Linked DNA regions of Homo sapiens: regions 1 and 2 are each linked to region 3. Evidence: promoter capture Hi-C in human tissues and cell types (Jung and others, 2019). All regions are on one chromosome and are shown on one strand. Each heading gives the region's core, a stretch centred on a gene start or on the middle of the fragment in contact. The rest is flanking DNA. Distances are from core to core; before and after follow the strand shown. Region 1 overlaps RNF212B (ring finger protein 212B). Region 2 overlaps HAUS4 (HAUS augmin like complex subunit 4). Region 3 holds the start of CEBPE (CCAAT enhancer binding protein epsilon).

Region 1 (3,347 bases), core at 764-3,263, 130 kb before region 3:
GTTCTTATTTTTAAATGTCAGCATTTGTATTTAGTTGAAGATTTATTTTTGCACGCAATTTAATTTTTGAACATCTGTAAATAAGTCACTAAGTTTTAGAAATTCACTTTAAAGATATTGGTAAATTCACGATCTCTTTGACATTCAAAACCTATTAGTTTGCCTTATCTATCTTTTGTGAAACTCCCTCATTCCATAATATCTACAAGCAAGTCTTAGTATTTTTGAACTATATATCTGGATAATCATTTGCTTGATAAAAGGACATTTCTCTTTAGAAGTACTCCAACTAAAAAAATAAGAAAGGATGACAGAATTGGAATTTTACAACTTCTAATGAATTAAGGATCTCTGCAAAGTTCATCAATGGCTACCCTCATACAAAATAAGAGACATAGACCATTAAGTACCTCTTGGTGGAATACAACACTAGAATAAAGTGGTCTTGCCTCACCTTTCCCCGCCCCCAAACCAATGATGGTGATAAACCCTAAACTTACCTAACAATTTACAAGAAATAGAGGACAGAGGAACATATGAAATGACTCCATAGGTACAATAAACAAAATCCACACTGTGAACAACTCTATAGACAAAAGACCATTTTCTTCAATAATAACTTAAAAAGAAACAAGAGAAAACTTATAGTGTAAAAGAAACTTAAGAGACATAATAACCAACTGAAATATATACCTTTATTGAAACTCAATTCAAAATGTGGGAACATTTTAAAACTGAGACAACTGGAGAAATGTGAATGGGGACTGATAATTTGATAATATTATGGAATTGTTATTTTAGCATGATGTGGTTATATTTAAGAAAAAAGTTCCTATCTTTTAGAGATACACACTGAAATGTTTACAGATAGAAATGACGTAATATTTGGTTTTGGCTTTAAAATAATCTGGGTGGGGGTGGCAAGAGGTATGGATGGAGGAAAACTGGCCATTCACTGATAATTGTTGAAGTGGAGTGATGGATGCATGAAAATAAACCGTCCTCATAGGGTTTAACAAGAATTACATGCTTGGCTCTGGACAGAAATATAGTTATAATTAAGCATTAATCAGGCTGCACTTGGCCCACTTCCTTTTAGCTGCGAAAGTCACATCACACTAGATGCTGACCATTTGCATCCTCATTGTTCTCATAAATAGAATATGACATTAGAATCATAAGGCTTTTGCTTAAAAGTTGCTTAAGATAGTTTTCAGATCCTGAATTCCAGTGGAACAGTGAGTCTAAAGACCCCCACAGAGGAACTGAATCAGCATGAGAATGCAATTTCTTCATCCCCGCTTCTCATGACTTCAACCTGCATTCCTTAACCAATCAATGATCCCCACACCTTGGCTTACTACCTGTCCAACCCTTTAAAAACCTCTAGCCTCAAACTCCTCCTGGAGGCAAATTTGAGGTTTCCTATCTCCTTGTTCAGCTGTCTTATGATTAAACCCCTTTCTCTGCTGCAACCCAGTGTCTTGGTGTACTAATTTGCCATGCACTGGGCAATGAACCTGATATGGTTCAGAAATTAATTATATTATACATATCATTATATTCTTTTAAACATTTGAAATTACATGTGATGAAATCATAATAAACTTTTTTTTAATGGGCTGATTTTGAGGGGGATCTTTTGAACAGGGTGTGGTGTAAGAAATACATATATGGTCTTCGCCCCTGGTTCCTCACAGAGTTACTAAAACCTTTGGCATTTCCTGAGTGATAGGAGCATCTTTTGTTATTCATAACAAGCTCCTTTCAACCATACCTGAATGTGTGCTAATGAGGTGACTCTTGGTGGGTCCTAGGTAGCATCAAAATGGGGACTTGTTGCCAGGGGAACCAAACACTGTTTAGAGGGTTGGGGTCCCAACCTTTCTTCCCACGCCCCCCAACCCCTGACAATCAGAGAGGGAAAAGGGGCTAGAGATTGAGTTCAATCGCCAATGACAAATTCTTTAATCAATCATGCCTATGTAATGGAACGTTCATAACAACTCCTGAACAAGGCGGTTCAGAGAGTTACCAAGTTGGTGAACACTTGGAGGTGCTGGGAGGGTAGTGCATCTGGAGAGGGTATGGAAGCTCTGCACCCCTCCTCACATACTTTGCATCTTTTCCATTTGGCTATTTCCATGATATATGGTTTTCTTTCTTTCTTTTTTTTTTTGAGACAGAGTCTCACTCTGTTGCCAGACTGGAGTGTGGTGGCACAATCTTGGCTCACTGCAACCTCCACCTCCCAGGTTCAAGTGATTCTCCTGCTTCAGCCTCCAGAGTAGCTGGGATTACAGGCGCCCGCCACCACACCCATCTACTTTTGGTATTTTTAGTAGAGGCAGGGTTTCACCATGTTGGCCAGGCTGGTCTCGAACTCCTGACCTCAGGTGATCTGCCCGCCTCAGCCTCCCAAAGTGCTGGGATTACAGGCGTGAGCCACTGCACCTGGCCCCTATGTTGTATCTTTTATAATAAACTGGTAATAATAAACAAAGTACTTTTCTGAGTTCTGTGAGTCATTCTAGCAAATTATTGAAGCTTGTGGGAGCAGGAGGAAGTTCATGGGAATCCTCAAGTTTGTTGTTGGCCAGTCTGAAGTATTTTAGCCTGGGTACCCCATTTGTGGCTGGTGTCCAGAGTCGGGGCAGTCTTGTGAGGCTGAGCCCTAAACATGTGAAGTATGATACTAAAACTCTAGGAATTAGTGTTAGAATTGAATTGAATTGAATTGAATTGTTGCATACCTAGTTGGTGTCAGAGAACTGGTTGGTATCAGAAAACATCTCACACAGGGGCAGAAAATATATAGTGCAAATATTATTCATCTTTCCATTTAGCAAACCTTTACTGAACACTTTACGTCAGGCATAAGAACTGGAAATGCTAAGATGAATAGTATGGGTTCTTGTCTTTTAGTAGTGTCAAAGGAAAATATGTTGGACCCCCCAAATCACTAAGCTAAAGGGAAAAGCCAAGCTGGGAAATGCTCAGGGCAAACCTGCCTTTCATTCTATTCAAAGTCACCCTTCTGCTCACTGAGATACATGCATATCTGATTGCCTCCTTTGGAGAGGCTAATCAGAAACTCAAAAGAAGGCAACCATTGGTCTCTTATCTACCTATGACCTAGAAGCCCCTTCCCACTTTGAGCTGTCCCACCTTTCCCGATCGAACCAATGTTCATCATACATATGTTGATTGATGTCTCATGTCTCCCTAAAATGTATAAAACCAAACTGTACTCTGACCACCTTGGGCACATGTCGTCTGAACCTTCTGAGGCGCATGTCCTCAATCTTGGCAAAATAAACTTTCTAAATTAACTGAGACTTGTCTCA
Region 2 (3,230 bases), core at 586-3,085, 170 kb after region 3:
GATTCCTACTAACGGTCCCTTAATTTTTATTCTATTTGTCTAATATGTACCAACTGCATTTCCGTTTCCTAAGATCTTAGTTTATTACTTATTCCCCCTTAATATCCTTGTATATAATATAAATGCTTGTTACCTTGAATATTACCCTTGTTTATTTGTGGATTTTTAAAAAATCTCATTAGATTTAGCAATCTTTCCTATAAAAATCCTAGGGGTTTTTTGGAAGTATTAAGTTATGCTCAGTTATGTAAAGTAAGAGTCCACACCTTTTTTGTTTTTTTGTACCTGTGGGGACATGATGTTAAGTGTGCAGCAAACAACTTCCTCCTTGTAACCTGAGTAAAGAGGACCTGTTACAGAACCCATACTTCAGCAAGCTTCTCCTGAATCTCTCACAGCATGTGGATGAGAGTGGCTTAAGCCTCACCCTAGCAAAGGAGCAGGCTCAGGTAAGGGCTTTGGGAGAAGAGATAAGAAGAAGGGAAAATCCTGAGAGAGAGGTTCCTACCTGAGATTTTTTGGATTTCTAGGCATGGAAGGAAGTTCGACTGCATAAGACAACATGGTTGAGGTCTGAGATTTTACACAGAGTCATTCAAGAGTTGCTTGTGGACTACTATGTGAAGATACAAGACACAAATGTAACTTCTGAGGACAAAAAGGTGAGGCAAAGGCTGGGCGTGGTGGCTAACACCTGTAATCCCAGCACTTTGGGAGCCCCAGGCAGGCTGATCACTTGAGGTCAAGAGTTTGAGACCAGCCTGGCCAACATGGTAAGACCCCGTCTCTACTAAAAATACAAAAATTAACCAGGTGCAGTGGCACACGCCTGTAATCCCAGCTACTCGGGAGGCTGAGGCAGCAGAATCGCTTGAACCTGGGAGGCGGAGATTGCAGTGAGCCGAGATTGCGCCACAGCACTCCAGCCTGGGTGACAGAGCGAAACTCAGTCTCAAAAAAAAGTGAGGTGAAAGAAATGAGGTGGGGTTGGTTACCAGTTACAGGAATGACCAGGCCAACTGTGGCTTTGTCTGATGATGTGATCTAGGGGAAGTAGGAGCTTTGAGAAATGGTTTGTCAAAAGAGAAATGGACTGTAGTTATGGGGAAGGAGTGGATGTGTTATCAGAGTTTGTAATAGAAACATTGACAGAAGTCACTCGCAGCTGAGTTATCTGAGGGGGGATGATATATTTGAGGACTTTGAAAATATGTGAAAAACTGGTTCATAAGGATGGAAGAGGTGGAGTGGGAGAAGTTTTATAGTTGCCTCTTTTTGTTTTTTATTCTCTCTCTCTCAGTTTCATGAGACCCTTGAACAGCGGCTGCTTGTAACTGAACTGATGCGGCTCTTAGGTCCTAGCCAGGAGAGGGAGATACCTCCACTGCTGGGGCTGGAGAAAGCGGACCTTCTGGAACTCATGCCACTCTCAGAGGTTGGCGGGGAGATATTGGAACCAAATAAATGAAATGGTTTAATTTCTCCCATATCTTTAAAATGTTTTTTTTGTCAAGCTTTATTGTTTTTGTAAAAATGATACACATTCAGGGTGGTCAGACTCAAATAAGAAAAACGTTACACAGGAGCAAGTAAAAGCTGAAATACTGCATCTAGAAGCACAATATTATTATAAACAGCTTGACATAAATGGTATTATACCCTTCATGCTTATATAGAGAGTATAAGGCCGAGTGTAGTGACTTCCGCCTATAATCGTAGCACTTTGGGAGGCTGAGGTGGGAGGATCACTTGAGTTCAGGAGTTCAAGACCAGCCTGGGCAACATAGTGAGACCTCGTCTCTACCAAAAAAAAAACAAAACAAAAGCCAGGTTTGGTGGTGCACACCTGTAGTCCCAGCTACTCGGGAGACAGAGGCAGGAGGATGACTTGAGGGTGGGAGGTCAAGGCTGTAGTGAGCTGTGATCATGCCACTGTACTCCAGCCTGGGCACAGAGTGAGACCCTGTCTCAAAAAAAGAAAAGTACAGTCTATTTTCATGTAATATATTTTGGATTTCTTTTCAAGTCAATACATAAATGTAAATAAGATGATAGCTTCTATAGCACTGTTAGCAAAGTATCTAGGCACATAGTGCTTAGTGTTATGTCATCAGTTTAAATCTCTGCTAGGATTCTATTATATGGATGTAGAATAATTTGCTTAACCTTATTGGTGGATATTAAGGTTGTTTCCACATTTTTGCTGTTAGAAACCACAGGGAGATGAACATGCTGGTTCATATGTGTCTTTACCTTTGTATGATTATTTCTGTAATGCTGGTGCTAAAAGTGGGATTCCTGAGTCAGTGCATACTCATACAGAATATTGGTACCTAATGCCAAACTGCTATCCAGAAAGGTATTTTCAGGGCTCCTGGATCCCCCATGTTCTCACCAACATGGGGTCTTGACAGTCATTTTATTCTTCGCTAATTTGATAGGTGAAAAATGAGTCTCTCTGATGTCTCTTGATGCATTTTCTTTGGCTATTATTGAGGTTATCATCATGTATTCATTGGCTGAGACGTCCTAGTTTTTACAGTCTATTCGCATTTCTGCCTTTACTTCTATGACTGTAGGATTTTGTGTGGATGAGGGCTCGGCTACAGCAAGAAGTAGAGGAGCAGCTCAAAAAGAAATGTTTCACTCTGCTCTGCTACTATGATCCCAATTCAGGTGAGTGCTAGCTGTCTGTTCTGCTCACAGCTGGACTTCAGGGTTCCTGGTCTGCTCTTTTGAGAATAATATATTTTGATTTTAGATTTGGGACAGAGGTTTAGAACCATCAGAGATGCTTATTTGTTTTGTTGCTGGTAGAATAAAAACAAGGACTTTTTGTTTTTTTGTTTTTTTTTTTTTTTGAGATGGCGTTTTGCTCCTGTTGCCCAGGCTAGAGTGCAATGGCGCCATTTCTGTTCACCGCAAGCTCCTCCTCCTAGATTCAAGTGATTCTCCTGCCTCAGCCTCCCGAGTAGCTGGGATTACAGGCATGCGCCACCCCGCTCGGCTAATTTTGTATTTTTAGTAGAGATGGGGTTTCTCCATGTTGATTAGGCTGGTCTGGAACTCCCAACCTCAGGTGATCCGCCTGCCTCGGCATCCCAAAGTGCTGGGATTACAGGTGTGAGCCACCACACCCGGCCAAAACAAGGACCTTTGTAAGGACTCTTTTTATTCAGCAAGATACTGAGTGGGAGTGTCCTCCTGCTGCAGGGAAGGATGAGTTCTCT
Region 3 (3,272 bases), core at 1-2,500:
ACCTACAATCCCTTTTGGAGATGAAATTCAACAGGTAAAAGCAGTACCAGAGCAGGTGTCTCTGAAAGGAGGTAGTGGGGAGTTCCCAAAGGAAAGAGAAAAGGGAAGAGGAGAGCCAGCACAGAACAAAGAATTGCAGAGAGGGAGCCATGGGCTTCTCCTGGAGACCCTAAAACAGAGCCCCAGGAAGAGGTGATGACATAAGAGGCTTCTCAAACCTCACAAGAGGAAGTAGACCCAAGAGACACGCATTGGAGATCAGAGAGCGGCCATGCAAAAGGAAAGACAGCAAACGAGCTGCAGCAAGCTCCTAAGCCCTGCAGCCCAGGCACAGGAAACCAGAGGCAGAGCCTCAGGCCCAGGGTGAGGGGCGAAGCACCAGCCTGAGCCTCTTGCAGCACAGAGCAGCTGGAAGAGAGAAGTGCTGGAGCCACCGGAGGATTATGGCTGTCTACTCCGAGGGCAGCAACCTGCCTAGGCCTGCGGTGCAAGGCCCAAGTCCTGACCAGGTGCTTTGGCCAAGCCCAGGGAGTTAGGAAGTGTACCAGGCTGCTAGAGGTAGCTAGGGCTGGAAACGCACTAACATGTGGGCTATTGCACAGCTCCTGTGCAAAAACCTAGCAAATGAGCATGCTCTGGAGCACCACGCAGGCTCGCGTGTAGAGCTTGTTCCTAGGACCTATCACTACTCCCTAGACCCCTCAAAAAACAAACCCTGGCCTACACTCAGAGAATGCTCTGGGAGGTGGGGCTACAAAAGAAACTTTCTCTTGGGGGTAGGTGGAGCCCAGCAGCAGGGGAGAGCCAGAGGAAGGCGTGTCAAGGGAGGAGGTGAGACCCAACTGAGGGTAGGCACTGGAAGAGGGCTTTCTCTCTTCACTCTAACTTGGAACCTCATTCTGCATAGAACTTTTTCAAAGTCGGAGGGAGGAGGTTGCTCAGAGTGGGGTGTTGCCCTCTGCGAGGATTTGGAGTCCCCTGGCCTCCCAGCAGGGAGTGGAGAGGCATTCCCAGAAGCATCAGCTTCGGGCATCTCCAGAACCCTGGCTTGGTCCCTGACCAAGGAGTGTCCCCAACTGCTGAATAGGCCAGGAGTCGCCTTTCTCTAAGGCTTACATCTCTCCCTCTGGGGTGTGTCCTGCCCCTCCCTGAGTCACCCCAAGGGGAGAGAGGGGAAAAAAGGGAAGAGAAGAGAGGCATTGACTACAGAGGAAGGAAAAGGAAGCAGAGCAGAGGGGGGAGAGAGGCCACACAGGAGTGGGTGACAGAGGAGACTGCAGAGGGCAGGTCTAGGGCAGAAGATCGAGAGAGGGCAGGCCCAGGTCAGGAGGAGGTAGAGAGAGGGCAGCCGGAGCACCCCAAGGGGTGCCTCAAGAGCAGGTGGGGGCGGGGAGCCGAGGGGGCGGGCCGGCCATGTCCCACGGGACCTACTACGAGTGTGAGCCCCGGGGTGGCCAGCAGCCACTCGAGTTCTCAGGGGGCCGAGCTGGGCCCGGGGAGCTAGGGGACATGTGTGAGCATGAGGCCTCCATTGACCTCTCCGCCTACATCGAGTCTGGGGAAGAGCAGCTTCTCTCCGATCTCTTTGCCGTGAAGCCAGCGCCTGAGGCCAGAGGCCTCAAGGGCCCCGGAACCCCTGCCTTCCCCCACTACTTGCCGCCTGACCCTCGGCCCTTTGCCTACCCTCCACATACCTTCGGCCCAGACAGGAAGGCGCTGGGGCCTGGCATCTACAGCAGCCCAGGGAGCTACGACCCCAGGGCTGTGGCGGTGAAGGAGGAGCCCCGGGGGCCAGAGGGCAGCCGAGCTGCCAGCCGAGGCAGCTACAATCCCCTGCAGTACCAAGTGGCACACTGTGGGCAGACAGCCATGCACCTGCCCCCAACTCTGGCAGCACCCGGCCAGCCTCTGCGCGTTCTCAAGGTAAGAGCAGGCCAGCCCTCCTCCCTCCTGCCCGGGGCTGGAGAGGCTGGTGTGGACAGGACCCTGTGCCCCGGCTCATGCTGCTGAGCCTGTGCTTGGTGTCGCTCTGTGAAATGGACCCAACCCACAGTCCTCTGTGTTCACACCCCACCATGACCTCCCTTTCCTTCTCTGTGAATTCATTCCCACCCTGAATCCCCACCCAAAGCCCCTGTGGCAAGCTGACCTACTTGATCTCAGGCCCCCACCGCCAGCCTCTCTGCTGCTCACCATGCCCCCTCCTCTTGTTTCTCTGCCGCCTGCTTCTGTGAGAAATGTCTACTGGTCATAGAACGGGAGACTCAAGGCAGATTGAGGGAAAGTGTACTCAGAAAGTGTGAGAGCATTGGCTGGGTGTCGTGGCTCATGCCTGTAATCCCAGCGCTTTGGGAGGCCAAAGCAGGAGGTTCGCTTAAGGCCAGGGGTTGGAGACCAGCCTGGACAACATAGCAAGGCTCCATCTTTACAAAAAAAGAAAGAAAGAAAGTGTGAGAACATGAAAGGGAGTTTTGGTCTCAAGCAGAGGACCCTGTGCATCTGGGTCACCATCTCCCAGAAGCAGAGCGATGATAGTTTTGACCTGAGAGACAGGAGCTGGCTCTGAGTCCTGTATTCCTTTGACGCATCAAGTGTGCCCTGGCTGCCGAGATTCCCGCCCCGCCTCCGCTCTGCCTCCTGGCCAGCCCTCACCTCTCCGTCTCTCCGTGCCTTCCCCTCCAGGCCCCTTTGGCCACTGCCGCACCCCCCTGCAGTCCCCTCCTGAAGGCGCCCTCCCCGGCTGGCCCCTTACACAAGGGCAAGAAGGCAGTGAACAAAGATAGCCTTGAGTACCGGCTGAGGCGGGAGCGCAACAACATCGCCGTGCGCAAGAGCCGAGACAAGGCCAAGAGGCGCATTCTGGAGACGCAGCAGAAGGTGCTGGAGTACATGGCAGAGAACGAGCGCCTCCGCAGCCGCGTGGAGCAGCTCACCCAGGAGCTAGACACCCTCCGCAACCTCTTCCGCCAGATTCCTGAGGCGGCCAACCTCATCAAGGGCGTGGGGGGTTGCAGCTGAGGCTGGCTGGTGGATTGTGGGCACCAGGCTCCCTGGCACGGCCTAACTCTGCGGACCCCCATCCTGCTGGGGGCCTAGAACCCTGAGACATAGACCATGGATAAATGGCAACCGGGGTGGCAAAGAGGGCAGGACCCAGCATAATGATTATATGGCTGAATAAAGTTGCACTGTGACTGGGTGTTGGGACTGTTGGCTGTGTGTGTGTGTGTGTGTGTGTGTGTGTGTGTGTGTGTGTCATGGAGGACCCTGGG

The links. Contacts are between HindIII fragments. The study calls those that stand out against the background at their distance.
Region 1: a contact is called between a fragment that was not itself captured here and the fragment with the promoter of CEBPE in region 3, in 1 of the 25 tissues and cell types used here (mesenchymal stem cells).
Region 2: a contact is called between a fragment that was not itself captured here and the fragment with the promoter of CEBPE in region 3, in 3 of the 25 tissues and cell types used here (dorsolateral prefrontal cortex, mesenchymal stem cells and thymus).

Annotation. Positions count from the first base shown.
Region 1 is chr14:23,250,647-23,253,993 of GRCh38, reverse strand. The region is part of intron 4 of RNF212B (ring finger protein 212B); the gene reads right to left. Among named protein-coding and RNA genes, the nearest start is that of RNF212B, 14 kb to the right of the region's middle. RefSeq lists a silencer at 1,620-1,914. The HindIII fragment of the contact is 5,432 bases long and covers 1-3,347 here.
Region 2 is chr14:22,949,760-22,952,989 of GRCh38, reverse strand. It overlaps HAUS4 (HAUS augmin like complex subunit 4), which reads left to right. Exons shown (of 10, transcript NM_001166269.2): 3 at 307-449; 4 at 531-662; 5 at 1,301-1,435; 6 at 2,580-2,676. All of the region lies in intron 2 of PRMT5-DT (PRMT5 divergent transcript), which reads right to left. Among named protein-coding and RNA genes, the nearest start is that of MIR4707, 5.7 kb to the left of the region's middle. The HindIII fragment of the contact is 5,650 bases long and covers 1-3,230 here.
Region 3 is chr14:23,117,233-23,120,504 of GRCh38, reverse strand. It overlaps CEBPE (CCAAT enhancer binding protein epsilon), which reads left to right and starts at 1,250. Exons shown (of 2, transcript NM_001805.4): 1 at 1,250-1,923; 2 at 2,683-3,199. The coding sequence starts at 1,414. The coding sequence ends at 3,018. RefSeq lists enhancers at 1-451, 532-611. The HindIII fragment of the contact is 12,579 bases long and covers 1-3,272 here.